Regions from separate parts of the Homo sapiens genome. Here regions 2 and 3 are each linked to region 1. Evidence: promoter capture Hi-C in 16 types of primary human blood cells and fetal thymus (Javierre and others, 2016). All regions are on one chromosome and are shown on one strand. The core of a region is centred on a gene start or on the middle of the fragment in contact, and the rest is flanking DNA. Distances in the headings are between cores, read along the strand shown.

Region 1 (4,434 bases), core at 513-3,012:
TGGGATCAGATTAAAATAAGCATTTAAGATCTAATTATAATTAGATTGATGTGACTGGCAGTGAACCTGAAAGAGCACTGGATAAGGATCTTTTTGTATGTCACCAAGTCAAGTGTTAGCTGTGAGATCTGAGATAAGTCACATCCTTTCTAAGCCTTGTTACATTAAACCTAACTCACTATAGTCAAAATGACTACATAAGACATCTTAAAATGCAAATCATTAATATCATCTAATAATTATAATTACCGTAATTCCACACAGATTTTCCTTAAAACTTACCAAAACTACCATCCATTGGATAATCAAGAGGGACCAATGGTTTTCTGGGTCCAGGTAAACTAATGGCTGAATTAAAAGCCAGGGCATCTTCACGCTCTATTTTTTGAGATTCAGCTGGCTTCTTCTGAGCTTCTTTTTCTGCTTCATCCACATGAATGGTGAACGCAGGCTGTTTACTGTTTGCTTTCCAAGGAGGAACGGTGACATGCTCATCATTTACAGGAAGATCCTTAAGGGGTGCAACCTAAAAAAAAATTAATAACTGGCTTTGAGCCTACTAGTCTTGCATTCTTTCTCTTATGGGTGTTGGCCTTTGCTTTTTCTCCCAAATACTCTATCAGGAATTAAACTTTCTGGGACAAAGAAGAGTTTCAGTATTCAAAAGAGAAGGGATGTTCCCATTTGTCACAGGCATTCCCACAAAGGCTATCAATAGATAACACTAGGTGGAATTATGCAAAACTTATCAGGGCCACAAGAAGGGTCGGGTGACAGGCCAATACGTGACAAGTTTAGGAAAGACAGCAAAAAAATTGTTGGTTCACCACTGTCGCCCGAGGGTGGAGCAACAGAGCAAATCCGGCTAAAATGGCGGAATTTGCCAAAAGCAAAGTATTTTGTACACGCTTTTCTAAAGTAGAGGTCATCTCTTAAGCGTGAGGAGGATAGGGGTCAGAGTCCTACAGCAGTGCCTGGGGTTTAAAAGTGGAGAGAAAGGCGCGGAGCTGAGCGAAGACTACACGTTTTAGAGCTTGGTTTGACCCCATTATGTACAGGCAGATGCCCCCTATAGAGAGCAGACCGGCAGCATACACACAGTGTTGGCGGGGTCCTGATGCTAATATGGGAGAACTCCTACTGTGGCAAACCACACACCAGCACCAACTGCACTCCAGACCCTGGCCCCCTTCCAAAAGCCCAGGACATGCCTTCTCGCCACTCTTCTCTGCCTGCTAAGCCAATGCCAAACCCTGCTCGACCCACCCTCCTGCAGATATCCCGCATCCCTTTACCCGTCTCGTCTTCGGCCTCTGCTGCTGCGCTAGACCCCGCGGGTTCCCGGACTTCAGTACCGCCAGCGCGGCCCGGGTCCGCGGTTGTTGGACGGGCGCTGCCTTTTCCGGGTTGATATTCTCCTGGTCCTCTTGGAGCGCCGTCTGCTGCAATGCTAGCAGCGCCGAGCCCGCCTCGCGGGTCGCAGGCCCCGGCGCAGAGTTGCCCAACATCACTGCTCCCGGGAGTGGACGGCGGGATCAGCCTGCGGCGCCAAGCAGCGTGCACTCTGCCCAGCCGACCACTCGCACCGACCCGGCCAAAGAATAGTCGTAGCCGCCGGTCGCAGCCCAGGCCAGCCTACCAGCCCGCCCGCTCGCTCACCCAGCTCGAGACCACGCAGGGCCGAGGAGGTTGCGAAAGGCGCAGGCAGGCACTGCCCAGCGTGGCGAGCCAAAGACGCCCAGAGATGCAGCGAGCAGCCCGCCGGAGCGGCGGCTGTTCTTGCAGTTCAAGTATCCCGCGACTATTGAAATGGACCAATGAAAGCGCTCGCGGCCTTGACGTCATTCAAGGCGACAGGGTCGCAGGCGAGTGAAGGGTAAACCAAAGGAAACTGAGCAGGGGCGGGGCAGGAGGGAGAAACAAACTGGCTGGGGCGGGAGAAAACGCCTGCGCGGGGCGGGGAGAGGTAGGATTTAGGGCCCGACGCTTCCGATTATTTTAAGCTGAGCCACCTAGTGAGCGAGGCTGTCCGAAGGCTGACTCTAAGCCTTTTAGGGAATTAAACGGAATTAAACTTTGGCGACTATCATTTGGGTTGCCCAGCCTTTAGCTCTGGGACGTCTAGTTAGCTTAAGTGACTTTTTCCAAAGGTCTAAAATCTGGGGCACGTTTTTCAGTATCTCCGATTCTCCGTTTTCTTATGTGTTAATAGGGACTAATAACTACAGTCATATGGTTGTTAGGATTAAATAATGTGCATAAATTATTTAACACGGAGCTCACATAGTAATACAGTACTCAAGTGTCAAGACTGTAATGTCATCTTAACATTTAGGCGTTTATTCATAGTAACCAGAAATTGTGTTTTATGCTTTTTATTTTTCCTAATGAAGATGCAATTAATTTAAGATGGCACCTTGAACTACTGTTGATATATATAATAAATAGCAGTGCATTACAAAATATTCAAATACAGTCATTAATTTTTTTCTATTTTTCCCCAAGCTGTGGCAACCAACAAAAAACACAATGACGTTCTAGTGACCTAGATATAATTATGTTCCTTTCAGAAGTAAAGTTTTTTAAACATAGTAAAAACAATATGACCTTATTAAAATAAAACTCTCTTAACTATACGTGCCTTTAACAAATTTTTATATTTATATATAAATATAAGAATATACAAAGCTTGCACATAACTAATAAGTATAATAGCATATCATTAAGAAGCACTGTTTTCTAAAAAATTCGTGAGTCTGCCCTTCTTGAAACATAAAGCTTATTTTCCATTATCTGTATGCCATTTTAAAACCTTTCAATATTCCCTTGAAATTAATAAATATGAATTAAGATTAATGCACAAAACTTCTGTAGCCTTAATGTCATATATGATAAAAAGAGATCTAGAAGATACTAGTGTAGGAAAATCTAAGATGGCATCACTATTTCTGCACTCTTCACTTGAAGCACGCTGAATAGCTCCACTGGTTACAGCATGTCTAATTAAGATCCCCCGACTCTGTGTAAGCTCTTCTTATTTCCTGGCTACAATTTATAGCACTGAGCCAAGTCCAGCATTTCCACAAACTGCAGCAGAGTCATAAAACACTACCAAGCAAAAGGAATATCAGTTGCAAATCAATCCTATCTCCTAGAAAAAACAATTGGTAGGTTATTTCCACTAGCTGGCAACATACATAGTAACCAGGACACAAAGCAAGTACCAGTACTTGGGTTCTGGTCCCAGCTTTACAAAATATTAGCATGTCCTCTTAATCACAAAATTTCACTGAGAATCAGTTTTCTTATATGATTTGACAAATTTTACAACAGTTGTGAAGATCAAATAAGGTAATATATAAAAATACATTTTGAAGCCTATAAAGCGGTCTACATGTTTATGTGTTTATGTACCTTGTAATACATTTGAATATATTTTAATTTTCCACATATTACTTCTCAATTTAAAAATTAAAACAGCCACTTGCCAAAAATTCATTAAAATCCTATTTAAATCATTCTACTTGTGTTTTAAAAATAAAAAGACTCTTTTAGTTTTAGAAAGTTCAATTTGTCAAAAGAAATAGAAGCATTACTTTAAAAAGCCATTATATCTCAAATATTTTTAGATATAAAAAAGCATTTGAAATTAAAGTACATACACAGTTAACTTCTAATTCTCTTTTAACATTTTTCATTTAAACAGACCACTTCTTTGGGACTTTACCTTATTTGTATGTCATGCTGCATCGAAGAATGAAATCAATGCATTTTGGTCATAACTGTCCAGAATTTCCAATAGAAGGGGTACTTTAGTTTTTACATTGGTGCCTTTAAACTTAAATTTATCTATGAAAAGATCAGTGATCATGCCTTTAAAGAAAAAACATAAATTTCCTGTCAGTGATTAGTTATATTTAATGACACAGTATTTCACTAAAGTAATTGCTTGATAATCTATTTTTAAGCACCTGTAATTCCATGATTTAACATACACAAACCTAAAAGCCATGTTTTTAAAAATAGTCATTTTGGGGGGATTTTAAAACAAGTTTCAAGATATAAATCATCTGCCTAATAACCCTCTTAACAATTGATTACAAGCTATTAATTCAGACAATCAACTACTGGCCATTTTTGAACTGCTATCAGTATATATAACATCACAACAAGTGGTATATTTTTTCCACCAAGCTGACCATTTTGACATAGTCTAGGCAGATTCTATTTTTAACAGCTTATCTGAATTAAAATATTCCACCTATATGTTGACCATTCTTGGGATTTGACTTGAAGGCAAATAGTCCTAGGTTCAAAGATCTGGGCAAATCATTTCACCTTGAGTTTTCTCATATGTAAAACAGGAATAATTCAAGCTGTCAATCCTTTATCCAAAAAGCTTGATGCAAGATGTATTTCAGAATTTTTCCTATT
Region 2 (3,827 bases), core at 538-3,037, 1.7 Mb before region 1:
AGAAACTTCTTAGAAGCAGACTATCTGGACAATTTAAGAAGAATTATATAGGAGTTATTTTCCTTATCGGTAAAATGGATGTAACAATAGTACTTGTCACATATAATTTTTCTGAGTATTACATGAGATAATTTAAATGAAGCTTTGGCTTAATGCTAATATGTTATTGTTATTGTTTTATTATTATATTGTTACTGTTGTTGTTAATAAGACAGCTTTTCACCACTTTTCCACGCACCTTTCCTGGGTTGGTACATGTTTAGTTTAGCATAACTAAAGGAGGCTTTAGATAATACAACTTAAGGCACAGATGAGATAGAAACTCTTATAACATATATAATAATGATAGCCAACATTATTAACCACATACTATCTGCCAGGCACATTTCTATGTGCTTTACAAGAATCATTTTATTTAATCCCTCATTAGCTCAAGAGTTAGATACTACTATTACCTGAATTAAGTTACAGAAGGAAGTTGAATAATTTAGCTAAGGTCACCCAGCTAGGAGAACTGGAGTCAAATCCAAGCAATCTAGATGGTACCAGAATATGAATCCTGAAAGCATCAAAGATCTGACTATATTTTAGATAACTCTAATTTGAGGCAAACTATAGTGGGTCCTTAATATTCCTCCATCCTTGCTATGTAACTCCTGAGACCCATTCAGCAATGGAAACCAATGGAGCTGAATGGCTGGAAAGTCACAGAATTGGAACAAGGAAAATAATCCAAAAGTGGAAGAAAAGAGTCCAAAACTGGAGGAAAAGAAACAAGAGGTAGGATCCAGGGTGCAATACTGGCTCATCTGGCTAAGAGTGGATGGCCAAAAGGGGTACCCTGACTAGGGCTGCAAAAACAGGAATTTTTTAAAAATTTTGTGCTTAAAAGATCTTGTCAATTTTCTACTTAAAAGATCTTCAGTGAACTAAGAGGAGGCATTAAACAAATATTCTGGCCAAGGGATAGAATGGCATTTGAAATAGCCTACTCTTTGTCCTGCCAATTTTATTGATAGCTCAGACAAAAGGAAATGAGAATATGCAATACAGCAGGAATGTAAAAAGATGACAAATTTGAGAGACATTTTAAAAATGTGTTGAGATGTGTTTGGTTGTACTCTGAAGAACAGCCTGGGTTTTGGGGGATCATGGTGTGGAGCTGTTATACATGGAGATGATATAGATAAGTTTGTGGCATTCGATTCATTTTCCTTCAAGTGGTTTTAGGCCAGGCAAAAAAAAAAAATTTTTTTTGAGGTAATAGCTAATAAAATGACACATTGAGGAAGAAGAGGCAGTGAAGGAAACTCAGAAGAAATGGAAAAGTAGGAGGCAAATTGTGAGAGGAATGTCAGAACCTATTTAGTGAATTTGGATTAGGTAGAAAAATACTATTTTAGTAGTTTAGTAAATAATTCAGCACAAATAAGAATGACTGAGGAAGAGTCACAGATTTTGTACTTGAAAGATTTTTGGTGAACTAAGAGGAGACAATTTGGGTCACACGGTAGGGTATAAAAGTCTTTTACAAGGAGTTTGGAAGTAAGGCTAAGAAGATAGAAGTAAAAGGTTTGCAAGAGAAATGGAGAGTGGAGAAACCACATAAGCAATTGCTGGATCTTGGGAATTTTATGTTTAGGATATTTAGAGGAAAGAGAGCAAAAGAAATATAAATACTGAAGTTGAAAGTTGGAAAGGCCTAACTAATAGAGCCAGACACCTGAGGCCACAGAAAGCAATGGCATCAAGGACCCAAGTAGAGAATAAACAGAAGAGACAATTCCCTCTTAGAAATTGAAAACAAGGAAGAAGGGAGATGTGAGGATGCAGATAAATTCTCATTTTTTCTTGAAATGCAAGTAAAGAATAATCTTTAGCTTCTCAGTGGAGGAGGAGGTGAGATAGGGAAGTGGAGGAAGGGAAAGATAATGTCACATAAGTGAAAAGAGTTGGAAATTTTTTTTTTTTTTTTTTTTTGAGACAGGGTCTTGCTCTGTCGCCTAGGCTAGAGTGTAGTGGCGCGATCTCGGCTCTCTGCAAGCTCCGTCTCCCGAGTTCATGCCATTCTCCTGCCTCAGCCTCCCGAGTAGCTGGGACTAGAGGAGCCCGCCACCACGCCAGGCTAATTTTTTGTGTTTTTTAGTAGAGACGGGGTTTCACTGTGTTAGCCAGGATGGTCTCGATCTCCTGACCTCATGATCCGCCCGCCTTGGCCTCCCAAAGTGCTGGGATTACAGGGGTGAGCCACTGCGCCACGCCAAGAGTTGGAAAGATTTTTAAAGCAGCCATTATGAGGAGTGGGATGATAAGTCAATGAAGGAGAAATAAATGGATATTTGTTTTCCTAAATAGATATTTATTGAGTACTATTTATCTTACAGTGCGGTGCTGTATGGATGCAAGAGGAAAAATCTAGCTGGGAATCTAGTTGGGGAATTATTACACAAAAATAGCTGCACATAAGAAGGTACAGGATGAGAAACAATTGAATGTATGCAGTAATTGCCAAACAAATTCAAAGATAGCAAAAGAAATATTCTTGGAGGATGTAAAACTTGAAGAGTTATAAACATTTTCCACAGTGTTAGGTATAGTATATGTTATAAACATTTTGAAGAGTACTTAGAACTTGAAGAGTGCTTAGAACTTAGGCAGGCAAAGATGGGTGTCAATTAGAGGTTTAACGGAGATGATTAAAGTCCAGTCTGGACCATAAAGTAAAGGTGGGGATAAAAACCTTTATAGGTATAGATGTGTAGAGAGAGGACGTCACAGGCACAGAACTTAAAAATCTATGGGACAAAATATGGAAGCATCAAATTAGCTCACTTTTCCCCAGGACAGAGTCTTCATGTGATCAGATTACATCTGGGTTCTTTTTCTAGAGAGCCTTGTGTGACAGGCTAAAAGTTTGGACTTTTCTCAGGAGACGTTAGAGAGACACTAAAAGTTTTTATAGAATTATATTGGGGACAATATAAAGTTGTGTTTTAGTAACGTTACTGTAGCACAGGTGAAGTACAGATTGGAAAGCTATAGTGACAGTCCAGGTCGAGGCACTTAAGACTTCACTATTTTAATTATCTTCACTATTTAAATTCCAGTAAGTGCTATAATTGCCAGGAAAATCTCTGGTTTTGCCTCATTATCATAGATTCATTAATTTCACCTTTTTATCCATCTTCCATATCTGATGATTTTTAGTCCTTTAATTCTGCCAAATTTTCAGTCTTCTCTTTAGCTCCGGTCCTTTCTTGACCTCCTCTGTTTTTCTGTGCTCTTTTTTTGTATGAACTTTTCCTGTTTTCTGTTCTGAATTTATTCAGAGTAGACCTGCACACTTCAGCTTCACAATAGGGAATTCCAATAAAATGATGATGCTGTGTGTCATTCATTTCCTAATGTTACTGATATATTCCATAATATTTGCTAAGCTTTAATGGTTATTAATGTTTTATGCTATCCTATTACATAAGCTCAATAAGATTTCTGATTTTTTTGGTATTATGACTAACCGGTGAGCATATTAAATTCAGTGTGGTTGTATTTGTGAGTGGAAGATAAGGATAGTAGCACTTGTAACCCTATAAGTTTCTTACCATTTTACTAAGTTTTCACTCAATTTTAATTAAATTTGAAAGTCTTTAAAATTAAGGTCAGAAACTTATGTATTAGTTTGATCTTGGTGCTTTTCTTAAAATATCAAAATATTAGTGCTTATTTCTATCTGGATAAATTGTTTTTCTATTTAATTATCTATTTCTGCCATCTCTTGTAGTGACTTAGTTTCCAAAAATGGTGAATATTAAAATATATAAGGTGAA
Region 3 (4,036 bases), core at 166-2,665, 1.8 Mb before region 1:
ACAGTGCTTTCTAATTTTGCCCTTGGCAATTCAGCATGCAAGGCTTCCTCCTAGGTTGGAGTTGGGCTGGAGAAGGAAGAATGAAGTTGTCTGGCCCTTCCACCTGTGACTACACAGGCTGCTTGGTTCACTTAAGAAGGAGTAGCAAACCCTATTTCTGACTTAAGTGTAAGGCTCATTCTCCAATCCAGCTTTACTATAGAGTGCTGTAATTTGGGTAATAATACATATAATAAATTTCAATCTTCTTCTGTTTCCTGCATCTATGTCTCAAGTTGGTTAAAACTCACAAAGTAGAAGGATCAGGATTACATGTTAAACACAAATTCCAACACACCTTTGGTTACAAAAACAAGTGAAAGAATTAGAGAAGAAATGTTGCTGGAAAGAAAATGAATGCTCCTGTTTTAAAGCAAAATGCCCTGTGTGAACATTTAATGGCAGTATTATGAAAAGTTAATGCAATATTCAAATATTTTGACTACAAGTTCTTACTTCCTCAATTTGGAGTGAGATTCACACGGTATTCTAGTCTTTTTGTAGCTAAGTCTGGAGCAGGAGAACCCTCCTCTGTCCCCTAGACTCTGAGAGGAAACAAGATATAATAAAAGGATTTGGTTCCTATTGGTTTGGGAATTGGGCCAGCACATGGATTCTGGATGTTTGCAGTTGGGCAAATTACTTAACCTTCCTGAATCTTAGTTCTTAAATCTATAAAGTGGGGATATCAATTCTCACAGGGTTGTTGCAAGGATTGAGATAATGCATGTAATGAATGAATTTGAAGACTGATCCCTTCCCTGCCCACAAACTGAGCTAAAGATGTTCTATAAAGGATTCAGACTCCCCAGTGTTTCTTCATGGTTTTGCTTTATGGGTCTCCTCTGGGGCGATGGAGGCATCAGCGGAGTTGTAGAATTTCCATTTTGGATGCAGTCCTTCTCTCCCCACCCTCTTCTCCCTCACAGCCCTAAATTGAGGTTTGGGGGCTGTTCCTTGCTCCAGAGGACTCCTCATTTGGAACTCAGACTTAATTTCCTTTATCTCATGGCTCTCCCCATGTCCCATCATCAGTTTCTAAGACCACAGCTTGTGGCCCAAGTCTTCCATTTCCCCACTAACCCCAACCTCCATTCATTTAGGAGTCAGCTGAACAGATGTAAAGCACTTCAGTGGTGCCTGGCATACAGTAGATGATCAATACCCATGAATTTCCTTTCCTAGACTTGGAGGCTGTAAGCTTTACAGCCTGTTTTTAAAGAGCTGTACTGACTCTTATGAGTGTGAACACAGTGATCCAATAACTGCATGTTAGATATGAAATATTTTGCACATCACAGACCCAATCTTTAAAACCACTAGCATCTGTACTTGGTCAGTGAGACTGCCATTTCAGAAAGAAATTCATATCCATGTCTAGGCATCCACTAGATATGTCCATATCTAGAAAGTTTTTTAAAGTGTTTGGACTCTTTCCCTTGCAAGGAAATGGACTATGGGTGGTCCAGCTTATATTTGGGATGCCTTTTTCCACACAGATAAAATTCCAAGAAAATAAGATTTTGATCTCATGTAAGTTCCTTTGTGCAAACAAGCTTGCATAGCAAAATGGTGCAGATAAATGTAGATGAAATGGGCTTTGTACAAGTAAATGTAACTATATTATGTTTCTCTGGTATAAAAATAGATCACATGGTGGAGGACAAAAATAGGTGACATGGTAACATAAACCAACTTGTGTAATCAGAGGGTCAACTCTGACATTTTTCACTCTAGGCCTTTTCTAATAGTCTTGTTGCTAGGGCTACAATGTTTTTGCCAGATTGGAACAGAATTGTCAACTCTAATGAAGATTAAGTAGCTTGCCCAACTACGTTTGTTTTTTTTTTTTTTTTTAGCCTCAGTGAATACTGCTGGCTTTAAAAGTCATAATTATGAAGAATGGAAATATCTCTAAAAGATCTATTTTTAAAAATATATAACTAATAAAATTTAAAATTGAGTAGACAGTTTCCATTTCACAGCTATTCCAATATAAACTTTTATCAGTCACATTGAACAAAATAACTAGAAATATTTCATACATTTAAAAAAAGAATAAGAAATTATTTACAAGTTAAGCCGCAAACAATTCACCAAAAACTGAGTAATTAAGGTTACTTAACAAACAATTCTTCTGATTAGTTGGAAAATTGTTTCATTACTGTTCACAAATTCATACCTGATTTACTCTGTAGACAATATAGATTAGGCATAGGATAAAATCCTCTGTATTTGGTTCCTCCCAATCATTGGTCAAAGTCATCTGACAACAGACTATCTGAGGAAAGTGTAAATACAAAGTCACCCAATAAAACATGAATAAGTTTTGCAAAGCACAGTAAAGGAAAACCAGTTTGTTCTGAACACTTTATTGCTAAAAGGATGTAAAGGGTAAGAGGAAAAAGGTGACGAAACACTCCTTTTGATATGCTTGTTGGGGAGTCAGGATGAACTTCCTTGGCTAGGGATAGAAGGAAGAGATCACCTAAACTTCAAAAACCACAATACAATTTGCATACTTCCTTGGCCAGGGATAGGAGAGACCACTAAACTTCAAAAACCACGACACAATTTGCATGCCCATTGACCCCCAGTTTTACTTGTGCACAAAAGCATGAGAATTAAATAAAAATTCATGTGAAGTGACTAGTAAATAATAAATGCTAAGTGTTTATTCCCCTAATGTATTTATATATTTGTTGCCAGGAATTCCAATGCTGAGTAACCTTGCTTTTCCAATAAGCTTACAGCCTTTAGAACCAAAAGAAAGTCATCTTAATTTGAATATTACAGCATTAGTGACATCTGGTGGAAAATATAAGAGTTACAAAGTAGCATTACATAGCTATTCTGATCTTTCATGTAAATTTTAGATAAATTTTACATACTAAATGAAAACAAGATGAAGAAATGGTCTATGAAGTTATCTACCTTATTGTGCTAATAATCTTTGAATCTATATGCTAAAATATATAGGAAGTCAGTATAATTAGCATTATACTAATAAAAACATTTTTCAGCATGCATGTCTATATAGTGAAAAAATGATTAAAAATAGGCATGGGCTCTTTATCCTATTGTGAGTCTCATAAAAAGGGTCTCTTTTTTAAAGGAGAGCCCATACCTCTCTTTTTATGGCATCACATGCCAAAGAACCTCCCTTAACAAGTTTTCAGATCAAATTGTGAACTGTGGGGTGTGTTAGGAAGTATGTCAAGAAAATAGCTGGTTGTGCTTCAGAGAATATGGAATTTAGGTATATTTGGGAGAGACATTCTGTTTGAGATACTATGGATGGAGGCAACAAACGATGTTTTACAAGTGAGCTTTAAATATTACGGTATCAAATGCTCTGAACTAGGGAGGGGTTCAAGTATTTGTGACCAAAAGAGCAAACTGTGATCTGTTACAGGACTGGTAAGCTACAACCCTGGGGCCGAAGCAAACAGCCATGTTTTTTTCTTATTGGAACACACTCACGCTCATTCATTTATGTATTGTCTATAGCTGCTTTCAGCCTCGAGTAGGTGCAAGAGACCATATGCCTTCAAAAGCAGAACTATTTACTACCTGGCCATTTACAGAAAGTTTGCCAACCTCTAGTCCATTAGATAACTGTCATCAAACTTCTCGGTGCCATTCCCACCACCTCCATGGGAGGAGTATACTTCCTGGTCCCATTAAAGTTAGGCTTGACCTTCACTTGCTTTGGTCAGTGTGAAAAAGCTGGCCTTCAGAGTCCTGACTAACCAATGTCCCTCCAACAGAATGAGAAAGGTGCAGCAAAAGCCAACCAATACATGAGACTGTTATACCTCTGCACAAGCATTCTCACAGAGGTTTGACTTCTCTGATTGATGACACTGGGAAAAGGATCCTGAAAGCCAGATACAGTTCAGTTCCTCCTGGGCTCTACTTCAGACCTTGATGGGCTTAACCTCTGTTCATCCTCTACATATGGTAAGCAACACTGAGCCAGAGTCCAGGCCAGGCC

What was found. The method cuts DNA at HindIII sites, captures the fragments that hold promoters and counts their contacts. A CHiCAGO score of 5 or more calls a contact.
Region 2: a contact is called between a fragment that was not itself captured here and the fragment with the promoter of CCNA2 in region 1, in 1 of 17 cell types (total CD4 T cells). The highest score is 6.2, in total CD4 T cells.
Region 3: a contact is called between a fragment that was not itself captured here and the fragment with the promoter of CCNA2 in region 1, in 1 of 17 cell types (naive B cells). The highest score is 5.5, in naive B cells.

Annotation. Positions count from the first base shown.
Region 1 is chr4:121,822,121-121,826,554 of GRCh38, forward strand. CCNA2 (cyclin A2) reads right to left here and starts at 1,763. Exons shown (of 8, transcript NM_001237.5): 1 at 1,296-1,763; 2 at 283-526. The coding sequence starts at 1,508. It overlaps BBS7 (Bardet-Biedl syndrome 7), which reads right to left. Exons shown (of 19, transcript NM_176824.3): 19 at 2,209-3,873. The coding sequence ends at 3,740. RefSeq lists enhancers at 1,302-1,351, 1,542-1,611. The HindIII fragment of the contact is 5,182 bases long and covers 1-2,686 here.
Region 2 is chr4:120,077,342-120,081,168 of GRCh38, forward strand. The region is part of intron 1 of MAD2L1-DT (MAD2L1 divergent transcript); the gene reads left to right. Among named protein-coding and RNA genes, the nearest start is that of MAD2L1-DT, 12 kb to the left of the region's middle. The HindIII fragment of the contact is 3,295 bases long and covers 141-3,435 here.
Region 3 is chr4:120,053,598-120,057,633 of GRCh38, forward strand. MAD2L1 (mitotic arrest deficient 2 like 1) reads right to left here. Exons shown (of 5, transcript NM_002358.4): 5 at 2,026-4,036. Among named protein-coding and RNA genes, the nearest start is that of MAD2L1, 11 kb to the right of the region's middle. The HindIII fragment of the contact is 355 bases long and covers 1,239-1,593 here.